Regions from separate parts of the Homo sapiens genome. Here region 1 is linked to region 2. Evidence: promoter capture Hi-C in 16 types of primary human blood cells and fetal thymus (Javierre and others, 2016). All regions are on one chromosome and are shown on one strand. Each heading gives the region's core, a stretch centred on a gene start or on the middle of the fragment in contact. The rest is flanking DNA. Distances are from core to core; before and after follow the strand shown. Region 1 has its middle 750 kb from the start of LINC01821. Region 2 holds the start of TMEFF2 (transmembrane protein with EGF like and two follistatin like domains 2).

Evidence for each region. The method cuts DNA at HindIII sites, captures the fragments that hold promoters and counts their contacts. A CHiCAGO score of 5 or more calls a contact.
Region 1: a fragment that was not itself captured here is called in contact with the fragment with the promoter of TMEFF2 in region 2 in 1 of 17 cell types (M1 macrophages); the score reaches 7.2 in M1 macrophages.

The regions. Positions count from the first base shown.
Region 1 is chr2:193,587,207-193,594,711 of GRCh38, forward strand. No RefSeq gene overlaps it. Among named protein-coding and RNA genes, the nearest start is that of LINC01821, 750 kb to the right of the region's middle. The HindIII fragment of the contact is 310 bases long and covers 2,907-3,216 here.
Region 2 is chr2:192,189,261-192,196,789 of GRCh38, forward strand. TMEFF2 (transmembrane protein with EGF like and two follistatin like domains 2) reads right to left here and starts at 5,673. Exons shown (of 10, transcript NM_016192.4): 1 at 5,093-5,673; 2 at 2,620-2,729. The coding sequence starts at 5,264. RefSeq lists an enhancer at 5,619-6,194. The HindIII fragment of the contact is 4,792 bases long and covers 4,748-7,529 here.

The sequences.
Region 1 (7,505 bases), core at 1,812-4,311, 1.4 Mb after region 2:
ACTTAAAATAATAAAAGCCATGTATAACAAACCCACAGGCAACATTAAACAGAATGGGGAAAAGCACTTCCCCTAAGAAATGGAACAAGACAAGGATACCTACTTTCACCACTGCTATTCAACATAGTACTGGAAGTTCTAGCTATGGCAATCAAGCAAAAGGAAAAGATGAAAAACATTTAAATTGGAAAAGAGAAAGTCAAATTATCTCTGTCCGCTGTTGATATACTCTTATACCTAGTAAACTCTAAAGACTTCTGCAAAAGACTTTTAGATTTGATAAATTACTTCAGTAAATTTTCAGGATATAAAATCAACATACAAAAATCAGTAGCATTTCTATACACCAATACCAGTCAAGCTGAGAACCAAAACAAGAACTCAATCCCATTTAAAATTTGCTAAAAATTATACCTAGGAATATATTTAACCAAGAAAATGACAGATCTCTACAAGGAGAACTACAAAACATTGATTAAATAAATCATATATGACACAAATTAATGGAAAAAGTATGTAATGCTCATGGATCAGAAGAATCAGTATCATTAAATTGTACTGCCAAAGCAACCTACAGGTTCAATGCAATTCCTGTCAAAGTACCAAGGTCATTCTCCAGAGAATTATGTAAAACAATCCAAAAAATTCATCTGCAAAGAAAAAAAGCCCAAATAGTCAAAGTAATCTCAAGCAAAATGAAAAAAGCTCTAGGCATCACATTACCTGACTTCAAATAATATTATAAGGTTATAGTAACCAAAACAGCACAGTACTGGTATAAAAATAGACACATCAATTAATGGAACAGAATAGAGAACTAGAAATAAAGACATATCTACAACCATATGATTTTTGACAAAGTCCATGAAAATACGCACTAGTAAAAGAACATGCTATAAAATAAATGGTGGTGGAAAAAACGGATACTCACATGCTGAGGAATGAAGCTGGACTCCTATCTTACACCATATACAAACTAACTCAAGATGAATTAAAGTTTAAAGATAAAATTTCTAGTAGAAAACCTAGGAAAAACTATGGCCATTTCTCTAGGCAAACAATTTATGAATAAGTTCTCAGAAGGACACACAACGAAAACAAAAATAAACAATTGGGATTTAAATAAACTAAGCATGCAAAAGAAATAGTCAACAAAGTAAACAGACAGCCTACACATGTGAGAACATATTTGCAAACGGTACCTCCAACAGAGTGTTAATATCCAGAATTTACTGGGAACTCAAACTACTCAACAACAAAAAAAACAAAAACTTCATTAAAAAGTGGGCAAAGGACATGAACAGACATTTTACAAAGGAAGACATACAAGTGGCCAGCAAACATATTAAAAGATGCTTAACATCACTTATCATCTGAGAAATGCACTTTTTTTTTTTTTTTTGAGATGGAGTCTCGCTCTGTCACCCAGGATGGAGTGCAGTGGCGTGATCTCGGCTCACTGCAAGCTCTGCCTCCTGGGTTCACACCATTCTCTTGCCTCAGCCTCCCGAGTAGCTGGGACTGCAGGTGCCCGCCACCACACCCGGCTACTTTTTGTATTTTTAGTAGAGACGGGGTTTCACCGTGTTAGCCAGGATGGTCTTGATCTCCTGACTTCGTGATCCGCCTGCCTTGGCCTCCTAAAGTGCTGGGATTACAGGCCTGAGCCACCGCGCCCAGCCTAGTAATTCTTAAATGTGTTCCTGTGGACAGGTGCTACCTTCTGAGTGGAGACTGATCAAGCTAATACCTCTCTTGAAATTATCAATAGAGTGGCTCCTGTATTATTGCCCATGCCGGAAGACATTATTTTTCTTGTTTTTCCTACATGACCTTTGTATCCGTTCTTTATTCTTAAAGTTTAGTGAATTTTTAAAATGTACCTTGGTTTTGTTATATATGTTACTTTTATTTCTTCTTTTTTCTTTTTTTCTCTTTTTGACATTAAGCAAGCTATACCTTCCTTTGGTTCACATGTTCTGCCATTAAGTCAGTCATTACAGATAAGCTTCCTTCAATTATTAAGTGATTGGCTTTCAATCTACATATAAAATCGTATCGCTTTACTCAGAGGTGCTTAAATAACACATGTATGGTTAATTGCTTGGCAGCAAAACCCCAAATCATTTGCTCTGATGGTTTCACGGCAGGGATTTATGCCCATTTTCAAAAAGTACATGGGCTATTGTGGTAGAACTATTGGAACATTCTAATACATGGTTTTGTAATGTTGGAAACTGTGAGAATACCTTCAAAATGATTATTGCCTTTTAAAAGTACGGTGTTATATATGAAGGGAATAACATTAGAAATCAGTGCTGGAATATTAAAAAATAGTATTCTAGTCATTTTAAAGCTGAGTACCTTGCTAAGTTTAAAATTTCAGTCAAATTTGTGCAACATAATCACAGACCTTTTACAAGAGTGTCATTTGAACTAATCTGTTAGCCTTGTCCAAATTAGTCCAATTGTTTATAAGGTATTAAATGCACTACAAAGCCTAACATGTTTGCTATGCTCCATAATCATAGCACCTGTTAAACAGCCTACTGCAGCTGTACTTTTAGCAGATTACAGGCCATTAGGCAAGTTATACAGTATCTTCTTTTTATAACTTAATTTCTCTTCTTTTGCATAGTGACTTTCTGGATCATAAAATGAGAACTTTTTCCCAGCCTTTCACGATTGAGATGAGGATAGTGGTTTTAAAATTATTAGGATGCTCAGATACAACTTGCAAATGCTGTGGTAAAATGCAGTAGTAAAATATTTCATTAACTTTTAATTCAATTTAATATTGTTTTCTTCCCCCATGGGACTGGATGTCTTTAGATTTATCATGCTCTTTTTGGAATAGTTTCTTGAAGAAAAGTTAAAAGTAAAACTATAGAGTAAGAAAACACAAAAGCTTATACTAATTTTTTTTTCAGGATCCAAACAGTGGCCAAATGGAAGAAACATCTGGCATCTATTTTATTCCCTCATTAATTTTTTAAGCATTTGCAGGTTGTCTAAATCATCAAAACTCTTCCGTGTATGCAGACACATACACACAAAATTATCTTTAGAGTAATAAAGAATGTAAAATAGGTAAGGCAATTTATTCTCTTATTCCAGATGCAACAGGAACTCATAGCTTTAGACATTCTGTTTGGTACTTGCAATAAAATGCTGAGAAAATCTAACTTAACTAATGTATGTTCCCTGTTCTCATGAAGCTTACAGTTTCCTGGGGATGACAAAATAAATAAATGAATAAGAAAAACAAATAGCAATGATGTTATATATATGCCCACTCTATAAATGCATATATATATATATAATATATCAATATCATAGCATATCTACACATTATTTAACTGCGAAGCAGAAATGTTTGAATATGTACAAACACACCACAAAAAAAAAAAAACAAAACAAAACAGGAAGGCCACAGTGTGCCATGGCTCATCATAAACCTAGAGAAGTAATATATTTATTGAAATTTATTGTTAAAGAGGTGACATAGGAGTAGGGTATATGGGGTAGGAAATACAGAATTTTTCTTGGGAGAAGAACCACAGAAGCAGAATTTCTGTGGTAAAAGTTGCACAGGGAAGTTGGAAAATTGAGAGAAGATGAGTATAAATGGACCACAGAAACAAGTGGGTAGATTGCACTGGGTGATCCTACAGAGATTCTCTGTGACCAGTTCATTTAGCATTTTGTAATCAGAGTTGTTTTCAGTCTTTATCTCAGGCGCAACGGAAAACTGGAAGTGCCTTTCAGCCAGGGTGTCAGATGATCAAATTTGCATTAAACATTCATTTGGCTGCTGATACGGTTTGGCTGCTGATATGCTTTGGCTGTGTTCCCACCCAAATCTCATCTCATCTTGAATTGTAGCTCCCATAATTCCTACATGTTGTGGGAGGGATCCAGTGGGAGACAATTGAATCATCGAGGCAGTTCACCCCATACTGTTCTCGTAGTAGTGAATAAGTCTCACGAGATCTGATGGTTTTTTAAGAAGTGTCCCTTTTCACTTGATTCTCATTCTCTCTTGTCTGCTGCTAAGACCTCCCTTTCGCCTTTTGCCATGATTGTGAGGCCTCCTCAGCTACATGGAACTGTGAGTCCATTAAACCTTTTTTGGTTTCTAAATTGCCCAGTCTCAGGTACGTTTTTATCAGCAGCATGAAAACAGAGTAATACAGCTGCTGTACGGAGAATGAAAATGGAGAAGGGAAAATGGTGTGTAATAAATACATATATAGTCATGGAACCAGGCCATGGAAGATCTCATTCAGCTACAAATTTTAATTAGGAAATTGATTTCTACATCATCCTTTCTGGAGTTTTCATATGATTTTAAAGGTAGATTTATGTGGCCGGGCGCGGTAGCTCATGCCTGTAATCCCAGCACTTTGGGATGCCGAGGCGGGCGGATCACGAGGTCAGATCAAGACCATCCTGGCTAACACGGTGAAACTCCGTCTCTACTAAAAATACAAAAAATTAGCCGGGCATGGTGGCAGGCGCCTGTAGTCCCAGCTACTCGGGAGGCTGAGGCAGGAGAATGGCGTGAACCCGGGAGGCGGAGCTTGCAGTGAGCCGAGATTGTGCCACTGCACTCCAGCCTGGGCAACAGTGTAAGACTCCGTCTCTAAAAAAAAATTTTAAAAAAAGGTAGATTTATGTGATCCTAACATAAAAAAAAAAGACCCATTGGAACAATGGCACTGTGGGAGTGAATAAGAATTTGAATAAGAAAAAATCTGAGAGCAATTATGACACACTATGCCATTTATGATATTTAAGATGTCAATAATATCAATATTTCTGGGTTTGAAACAACTGGAAGGTTGGGAAAGAAGAGTGGCAGAAGATAATCAAGTTAGCGTCTTTACCAATGGTAAAGCCATAGGGGAGGTCACGGTTTACCCGGCCAAATGGCTCAGGGAAATGGTACTCAAAAGTGAAAACCAAGGTGTAGAGCAAGATGGCAAAAGAGAAGCCTACACCATTTGTCCCCCTGATGGAACACCAAGTTTTAACCACTATCTGCATTTAGAAAACATTGTCACAAGAACCAAAAATTAGGTGAACAAACACAGTAACTATTTTGAACTTCATATTGCTAAAAGAGGCATTAAGGAGGGTAGGAGAGACAGGTTTGAATCACTGACGCCACACTTCTCTCATCCCCCAGTAGCAGCCAAGTAGCCCTGAGAAAGAAACTTCACATTTTGGGGAGGGAGAGGACCGTGACTGGGGGACTTTATTGAACTCAGAGCTGCACTGTCACAGTGAAGAATAAAGCCATGCTGGGCTCAGCTGGCACTCATGCATGGAGGGAGTATTTGGACCAGCTCTAGCCAGAGTGGAACCGCTTGTGCCAGCAGTCAGAACTTGAGTTTCTTGGCGAGCCTTGCCACCGTAGGCTCTGGGCTCCTAGGTAAACTTGAAAAGCAGTCTAACACACAAGGACTGTGGTACCTAGGCAACTCCTAATGCTAGGCTTGGCTTAAAGCCAGTGTAGTAGGATGGCACATGACCTAGGGAGACACCAGCTGGCACAGCTGTAAGAATGCTTGCACCATCCCTTTTCCAATCTTAGGCAGTGAATCTTGCAGCAATAAAAGTGACTCCTTCCTTTTGCGTAAGAAGATGAGAGACTGGGCATGGTGGCTCATGCCTGTAATCCCAGCACTTTGGGAAGCCAAGGTGGGTGGATTACTTGAGGTCAGGAGTTCGAGACCAGCCTGGCCAACATGGTGAAACCCCATCTTTACCAAAAATACAAAAAATAGCCAGGTGCAGTGGTGTGCGTCTGTAGTCCCAGCTACTCAGGAGGCTGAGGCAGGAGAATTGCTTGAACTCAATAGGTGGAGGTTGCAGTGAGCCGAGATCATGCCACTGCACTCCAGCTGGGCAGCAAGGTCGAAAGTCCATCTCAAAAAAAAAAAAAAAAAAAAAAAAAAAAAAAAAAAAAAAAACAGAATGAGAATAAGTACATGATAGTGAAGAGTAAAGAGGAATTTGTCTTGCATCTTGGATACCAGCTCAGCAACAGTAAGATAGGGCAATAGAAAGAGTCATGAGGTCCCCATCCATTCCATATCCCAGCTCCTGGACAACATTTCTAGACACACTGAGGGCCAAAAGGAAATCTTCTGCCTTGAAGTAAAAGATCCAGTCTTGGTTGTTGCTGACTAAAGAGAAATTGGACCCCGAATAACCAGCAGTGATATGCAGGGAATGCGCTGTGGGCTCTTGTGGCTATAGTGAAAGACTCCTTATGTCTGAGAGAAACAAAGCAAAAAGTAAAGGAGACTTTGTTTTCCACATTAGGTACCATCTCAGCCACAGTAGGATAGAGCAACAAGCAGGCTTTTGGAGTGCCTGAGTTCAGACCCATTCTCCTGGATAGCATTTCTGGACCTGCCTTGGGCCAGAGAGGACTGCACAGCCATGAAGATGAGTTCCAGGCCTGGCAGCTTTTAGCACAAGATGACAGAAGAGACCTTGGACTTCAATTGAACATCAGCAGTCATCTGGCAAAACTTCCATGGACCAGCGCTGGTGGTGGACATAGGGATAAGCTCCTCTGCTTGTGGAAAGAGGAAGAAAGAGCAGGAAGGACTCATATTGTGGTATGAATATCAGCTTATCCACAGTAAAATAGAACATGTAAATTGCTAACTAACGTTTCTGACTCTAATCCCTGACTCCCAGACAGCATCTCTGGACGTGCTTGGGGCCTGGGGGAACTCATGGCCTTATAGGAAAGGGTTTTAGGCAAGACCCAGTACTGTGCTGGCTTTAAGTCTGACCCAGTGCAGTCTCAGTGATAATGGCCACAGGGGTCCTTTCACCAGAACACCCCCAGCTCCAGGTGTCTCAGCACAGAGTGAGACAGAGAGAGAGACAGTTTGTTTGTTTGGAAGAAAATAAGAGAAAATAACTAGACTCCTTCCAATAATCCAGATAATTCTTCCAGCATTTACCCAAGACCACCAAGGCAGTATCTCCATGAGTCTGCAAAAACCACGGCATTATTGGTACTCAAAGGGCCTAACTAAGCCCCTTCAAATACCAGGAAAGCCTTCCCGAGAAGAACAGGCACAAACAAGCCCAGAATGTGAAAACTACAATAAATATCTCACTCTTCAATGCCTTGACACCAGTGAAAATCAAGAAGCATCAACACCATCCAGGAAAACATGACCTCACCAAATGAATACAATAAAGCACCAGGAACTAGTTCTGGAGAAATAGAGGTATATGACCTTTCAGACAGAGAATTCAAAATAGCTCTATTGTGGAAATTCAAATGAATTCAAGACAACATAGAGAAACAAGATCAGAATTCTATTAGATAAATTTAACAAAGAAATTGAAATAAGTAAAAGAGTCTAGCAGAAAAATCTAGAGTTAAAAATGCAACTGACACAATGAAGAATGCATCAGAGTTTATTAATTTTAGAATTGATTAAGCAGAAGAAAGAATTAGTGAGCTTAAA
Region 2 (7,529 bases), core at 4,423-6,922:
AGGCTGGGTGTGGTGGCTCACACCTGTAATCCTAGCACTTTGGGAGACCGAGGCGGGTGGATCTCCTGAGGGCAGGAGTTTGAGACCAGCCTGGGTAACGTGGTGAAACCGTGTGTCTACTAAAATTCAAAAAAATTAGCTGAGAATGATGGAGTGCACCTGTATTCCCAGCTACTCGGGAGGCTGAGGCACAAGAATTGCTGGGACCCAGGAGGTGGAGGTTGCAGTGAGCCAAGAGGGCATCACCACTATCCAGCCTGGGTGGCAGAGCAAGACCCTTGTCTCCAAAAATTCCAAAAAAAAAAAAAGGAATGCACGCTTGTACCTGAAAAGGCAGCAGAGAAAGAAACAGAAGTTTAGGATAATATATAGGAAAATAGATTTTCAATACCTCTCCCTTTTTATCAGATACTAGGGCTAAAATAACAAACACCAAAAACTCAAATTCATGTATTGGGAAAAGATGGACTCAAGAGACTCTTAGCTTAAAATATCCTATTTATTATTCTTCATGCAACTTATACTTTTCTTTGATTTTCAACTTAATTCAGCCACTCTATATTCTTGGTATGTGCAAAGTCTACATTTTCCACTAGGGAGATGTTTATTTTTTCTTGCCAGATTGACAACTATTGCAAAGCACAAACTAATAGCAGTAGTAGTACACTAGTACATTTAAAATGCCACAAGGATTACAAAAAAACAATTTACATTTTAGTTTCTTACACAGACTTGCATTCGTTTCCACTCCCCCATCTATTCCACTTAACGATTATTTAAATTAATGACAAACATGACTGGCCAATGTATGAAAAACACAAATATTTTTGTTGATAAAAGTTTTACCAAAATCTTCTGTGGCACCTATAAAATGAAAACAATTCCTTTAATAAGAAAATTATTTATTTTCATTTCGTAGCATTCATCCCTTTAGAGTTCTGTCAACCCCTTTTTTTTTTCTCCTGGTGAAATCTTAGAACCATGGCTTTACATTTCAGGAATGTTTTTCCTGGTTCATTTGATACTTTTTATGAGTTCATTGCTTTTGTCTACCCATGGTTATGAAAATAAGACAAATTTATGGAAATCACAAAGGGAAAGAAGGAAAAAATTCACAAAATTCTCTGGGACTTTAATTAATGATTTATCCAACTGTGCTTTTTTCCTGTTTAGTTAACATTTGGGTAAGTATGAATTGGGGAGTTCTCATACTCTATCTCTCTCATGTAGTTCATTGGAAGTACATAATGGCACTGTTTAATGTGGCTGCAGACCTTAGAAGTTGACGTTACATGCATATTAAATATGCAAGAATATGTTTCTGACACTATGGTATGGTCTAAAAAACTGTACAGTCAGAGCACTACTTACCCACCAGGAGGTGGTGCACTTTACAAATATCAGTTGTCTTATTATGTTTCTTAGAAAGAATAAAATAATGTCTAAGAAGGTTTTAGCATTTCTAAAAGCCACTTAAACTTTATTTAAATGTGAATTCTCTTCTCTTTCTTAGTGGGAGGTTGAATTCCATCTAAAATATTTAAATTTCATCAATAATTCTAAATATTACTTATTAACCAGATATCTAGGTCTAAATTTGAGTTTATTGTTTTTATTTGTTCTATATCATTTTTATTCTTACAATCTTAGAAAAGTTTTCATTATCTCACATACAGTTTTGTTTATGTGCATATTTCCTGGTTGAGTCATATTGTCAGATTTTAAAAGTATTTTTAAAAGTAACTTAAAATACTCAAGGGCAAATATAGGCTATTAGTACAACATCCATGCTACTTGAAGTTCTGCATGATTATATGAACACTTTGAGAGGAAAAGTTTTATAACTTACATGGTGGAAAGCATTTGTTAGCTAATGACTATACTAATGACACTAAAAGTTCTATCTTTAATAGATACTAATAACCCAGTTTTGATCATGCCAGTAGTGCAACTTCTTTCTCTCTTTGTTAGTTAAAAGAAATTAACACAAGAAAAAGTACATTTCCTGATGTTCATAAAATGACTTGTGGATCTAAATGCTCTTCTGGATTCCTAGGGGATTCAGTTCTAATTGAGTGTGGTATCTATGAAAAAGCTGATATACACTAATTAATAAGTTCCATGATTTCCAAATTAGAACAAAGTGTTGAGGTTACACTAATAAGGAGTTACCTTAAAAACCTAGTCAGGTTGCAAGGATAATAAAGGCCAAGACCATTAAAACAGATAGCAATAAGATAAAAAGATGATAGCCCCAATCAAAAAGAACAAAAGAATAAGTCCACACTTCTTACCCCCTATTTTGACTATTATCCCCAGTCAATTCACTTTTAAAGTGATGCTAGAAGGGTCAGAGAAACATAATTTTCCTTTGACATCCCAAAAGCACAACCTGAAGCTTTCTACCTCCAGCAGCATTTATAACTTTGGCATATACATTTCTCCAAAAAGCGTATGTCTTCTTGACATCAGTTGGCTCTCTTGCTAGTACTTTTGCTTGGTGCCAGCTTCCCTCTTAGCTTGCATAGCTATAAATTTCCAAGTGATAGGCTGTAAAGGAAGATTCCTGCTTTGCAGTCTCATTAATGAATTAGAAGATGCAAATATAAGACTTCTTACCTTGAACTGACAGACGCAAGTCACAGTGTCTCCAATTCTTAAACATTCCCCATCAAATTTACAGGTGTTGGTGTCACAGAGGAAGAGATCATTTTCTCTGTCATCATAACCTCAAATTCAAAGAGAACACTCCAGTCATTAAAACATCTTACAGATTTTTAACAAAAAAAAGCACTACTTTGAAGCTTTAAAATACTTGTCCTAAATTTTAAATCCAACAACTATAGCTGTACTGCAAGGTCACTGTCTACTGATAACCTCAAAATCTAGTTAAGTGATCAATATTCGTTTCCATTTTCCACAATTCTTTTCTAGTCAATTCTCCTTTAGTATCCTTTTCTGATAGTGCTATTTTTTAAAGCTTGCGTTAATACTGACAGTGGTGAATGAAAGCTTAACATTTGCTTCCTGTTTTTTTTTTATTTTTATTTTTTGCTCATTAGGTGGACAATATTTATGACCACAAAACTCCACATTTTGGAAAAGAGCTAGTGATGATCTCTGAATACCCTTTTACCATTTCCCCATCTTTAATTGTTCTTTTGCTTCAACGACTGAAACAACCCCTTATTTGAAATGTATCCAGACAAAGAGGAAACAAAGCCTCAATAATAAAGATAAACAGGCACAGTGTTTTCTGTGATGGTCTGTTTGGCTCAAATGAAGATTGATCACCTCTAAGTTAACAGGGGTGGAAGCGGGGTGCCAAGTTCTTGACAACCTATCTGCAAAACCAGTTTATTCTCTTTAGTTTATGCAGTCCCCTTTAAAATATCTGGTAAATATGTAATTTCTTGATTGCAAATGTCAACTTCACATTTAAGTTAGTTATTTCCTAAAACAATGCAAGGGCTAGGAATGAAGCAAACCAGTCTGTGTTGGACTACAAAGCCATCAACATTTCCAAAAATTGTTTTTGCAGGCTCATAATTATTACCATAATAAAGCATCTAAAAAGTGATTAGGCAATAGCAAAGTGAAACTTATTCTTTCAAAAACAACACACATGTACGCATGAATCAAGAAGTTATAGAAACATGTTGAGTTTTATTAAAATGCCAAATTTAGAAACTGCCAAAAAAGAGAACAATCTATTGACCCAAATCTAATAGGGTTGCATATCTCAACTTGTCTTTGTAAAGGATAAATTAGAATGATGCATAATAATTTTCCTTTTGGCATTTACATCAGTAATAACTAGGAACTATACAGGCTTTCACCCTGAGTTACAGTTGGTCATTCCCTCCTCTCTAAAGTTACATACACTTCAGCTTATATACATCTTTGAAAGACACTTTATTCAGAGCCAGATTTAACTACAGCAAAATTATATTCACAGAAGATGAAAAATTACATACACACTTGCTAAAACTAGAACAGACCACACCTAGGGGACAATACCCAGGCATGTTAACGGAGTTTAAAATGCCAAGGAAATTACACCACAATTCTGCCCAGTATACTACAGGCTGTCAAACCGAAATGCTATGCCAGCTAGGAGTGCAGCAACTCCCATCCTCTGGCCCTATTTAATTAGGAAGCTTCAGCAGAGCGAAGCCTGCCAAGCGTTCGCCGTCAGAATCTGAAGGAACCCGAGCGAGCAAGAAGAGTGCCTGACCCACTCCACAGAAGCCTGTCCAGAAATGGAGGAGTCAGCGCCCACTGAAGTCGGTTCCGCCCTCGGCTCGCCTACATGGAGCCTGACCAGCCTCAGTCATGCCCACTCCGGCCTGGGAGACCCGCAAAGTGTTCTTTTTCTCAACTCCCCTGTACTACCTTGAAGCTTAGGGAAGCAAAGAGAGGGGCATATCTGGACTGCAAAACCAATGTCTTTTGCCGCCTAGGAGAGAAGGGAATGAGAGAGAGAGAGAGATAGATAGATAGAGAGAGAGAGAGAGAGAGAGAGAGAGAGAGAGAGAGAGAGAGAGAAATTCTATTGAAACCCAGCTCCTCTAGAATCTGTGTGACCTGGTCTTCAACGGGAGACCAGTGCGACCTCATGGCACCTTTGCCAGGAATCAGCGATTCCCCTGCAGTCACCATTTGATTTATTGCTTTCTCGCTCATTCTTTCTCATAAAGTTATTTCTTCCTCATCCTAGTAAGACTTTTTTCTTTAATGATGACAAAGCTTCTGTTTCAGTGTTTCCCCTAGGATTGGTGCTCTTTCAAAACAGTGAACCCAGAAAACCATCCCGTTTAATATTTCTCAAAATCCTCGCAGCTCCAATGTAAGCGCAAGCATGCAAAGGTTTCCTGCTACACCTGCACTTTCTGCCCATCCCAGAACCACCCCTCACCCCCGGGCCTGCAACAGTTCCCCTTGTTTCTCTGGATAGAGGTGGGTGGTATTAGGGGTCTAGGGCAGTAGGAGGTGAGGGGCTGAGGAGGCGCGCTAGGGTAGGCTGGTCTGTGCTGGATACGCGTGTTCTTCTGCGGAGTTAAAGGGTCGGGGACGGGGGTTCTGGACTTACCAGAGCAATTCCAGCCGGTGGGCGTTTGGCAGTCACTTAAGGAGGTAGGGAAAGCAGCGAGCTTCACCGGGCGGGCTACGATGAGTAGCATGACGGGCAGCAGCAGCAGCCAGCAAAAGCCCTCGCAAAGTGTCCAGCTGCTGCACTGCCGCGGGGACTCCCACAGCACCATGACTAGTTCGTGCAACTCTGCAGCAGCAAACGGCTTCCGAGGAACACAGGATCGCGGGGGCCGGGCAGCGGGCTACTGAGCATCCCGCGGACGGCGGCAGCAGAGGCGGCGGCGGTGGCAGTGGCACCCGGCGGGGAAGCAGCAGCCAAACCCGCGCATGATCTCGAGAGTTTCAGCAACATCCAGGGACTGGGCTCAGCCCCGGAGCGAGAGGGTCGTCCGCTGAGAAGCTGCGCCGGAGACGCGGGAAGCTGCTGCCATAAGGAGGGAGCTCTGGGAAGCCGGAGGACAGGAGGAGACGGGAGTCCAGGGGCAGACGAGTGGAGCCCGAGGAGGCAGGGTGGAGGGAGAGTCAAGGCGCCCCGCAGCCCGGCAGCCGCCTCTCGAGCTCTGCCGCCCGCATCCCTCTGGCGTTTGGGAAGCAGCAGGTCCTCAGCCCGCCCGGGGTCACGTGGGAAGAGGCAGTCGGGCTCTGATTGGTGGAGCAGGATGCAGGTCCCGGGAGGGAGGGGTCGACGAGGAGGTGCAAGGATGCAAGGAGGAGGCGGCCGCGGAAGCCACAGATGGGCTCGCTCGCCAGGCGCTGGCCCGAGTGGGGCTAGGCGGGGATGGCTCAAATGAGAAGCTCGGGCTTCAGGGTGGGCTACCCGCACACTCATATACCATTCGCCTCACTCTCCGCTCCAGGACGCCCCCTACCGAAGGCGGGGTCCGGACTAGCGCCCCTCTTCCGCGCGTGACCCCGGGCCGCGAGTGCGGGCCGCGGCTGGGTGGCGTCTCTCCGAGCTGGAGATGGTGGGGGCGGAGGTGTCAGAGGAGCAGCAGCAGCAGGGCAGAGAGGGGCGAGTCGGCGCGGGAGAGGGCGTCCTGCTGGCGACCGGCGCTCCAGCGTGCGGGAGCGCGCCGCCTAGGCTGTAGGGGGATGCAGGCTGGGAATGTCGCGGCGGAGAGGCCAGGGACGTTTCTCTAGGGATTTACAGGAAAGAGGGTGAGAGGCGATGGTGTTAGAACCGCTCTTGCCGACCTGGAAGCAACAGCAGCATCTCCCACAAGAGCGTGCAACCCCAAGGCTGCTCGCCGAGGCAGCTCAGCCATCCCGGCAGGCGCTCTCCTTCCTTCTCTCTTCTCCCCTCTCTCCTCCCAGGCCCCCCGCAGCTCCGACCCAGCCCAAGCGTTCGCAGGTTTGAATCCCTCTCCTCATCACCCGCTCCTCTCCAGCCCGTAGCCTATTAGTGTGTCCACCTGGGAGGTGCGGTCAGATGTGTTTGGAAGGTCAGATTGGTCGGGACAAGTGGTCTGAGAGAAAGAGAAAGGCTCCTCTGCATACGCCGCGGGTGGGTTGCCGGGAGCATCGGCCGGGCAGCGGCGTCCGGGAAGGGGAGAGCGGGCTCCATTTGTTGGCCCAGGCAGTGACCCTGCGTTCCTTACTCGGGTCTTTGCCGGATGGCCGGTGACCTGGGGCGACGAGAGAAGGTCTAACTCGGCAGGAGTCTCTGGCTCTGCGCGTTTCTTTCATTCTCTCCAGCGGGAAGGGCAAACGGCATAGCGGGACCCGCCTTCCGTCTGCTGCATTCTTCAGGCAGTTAGACACACTCTTTAGCCTAATGGAATTTTAGTCGCCAGTAACGGGACCAAGAGCTTTCGGGGACAAGGGTGGAGAGGAACATCTTTCTTCCATGACCGGGGTCACTATTGCAGTCTCAGTGTTTTGGATGCCCCATAGGGAAGAGCTTTCTTTTTGGTGTGTGATTATTCAGTGATTCCTGTTTTTGTTTTTGTTTATCTTCTCTCCGCTCTCCTTCTCTATTCCTCTCTGTTATCCCTCCTCCTTCTTCTCCCCCCGCTTTCAAAAGCCTCCGGATCCTCCCTTTTTCTATTTAAATTCTCCTTTTGTGCCCCTCTTTCTGTGTCCCCTGAATTTAGGAGAGCATTTGATAACATTTAACAGGCAATTAGTGTCCATTCCCAATCACTTAAAAGAGGCATTCATATACTTTGAAAACGGGACTATCTATCCTTTGCAGACACCAGCAGAAAAACAAATTGTACCCGAGTAATCCTTTTAAGTACTTTAACCTCCAACCTCCTCCCACTTCCTTGCTTTTTAACTTCTCCTTTGAGAGATGTGATCGTGCAGCACCTCAGTGCCTCAACGAAATCTTTTTTTTTTTCCTGTGTGAAATCCATCCCTTTATCTTACATCTCCGCCTCCGTCCGAGACTGTCCCTCTCCCCTCCCACCTCCAAAGATTTCTGAATCTCAGTG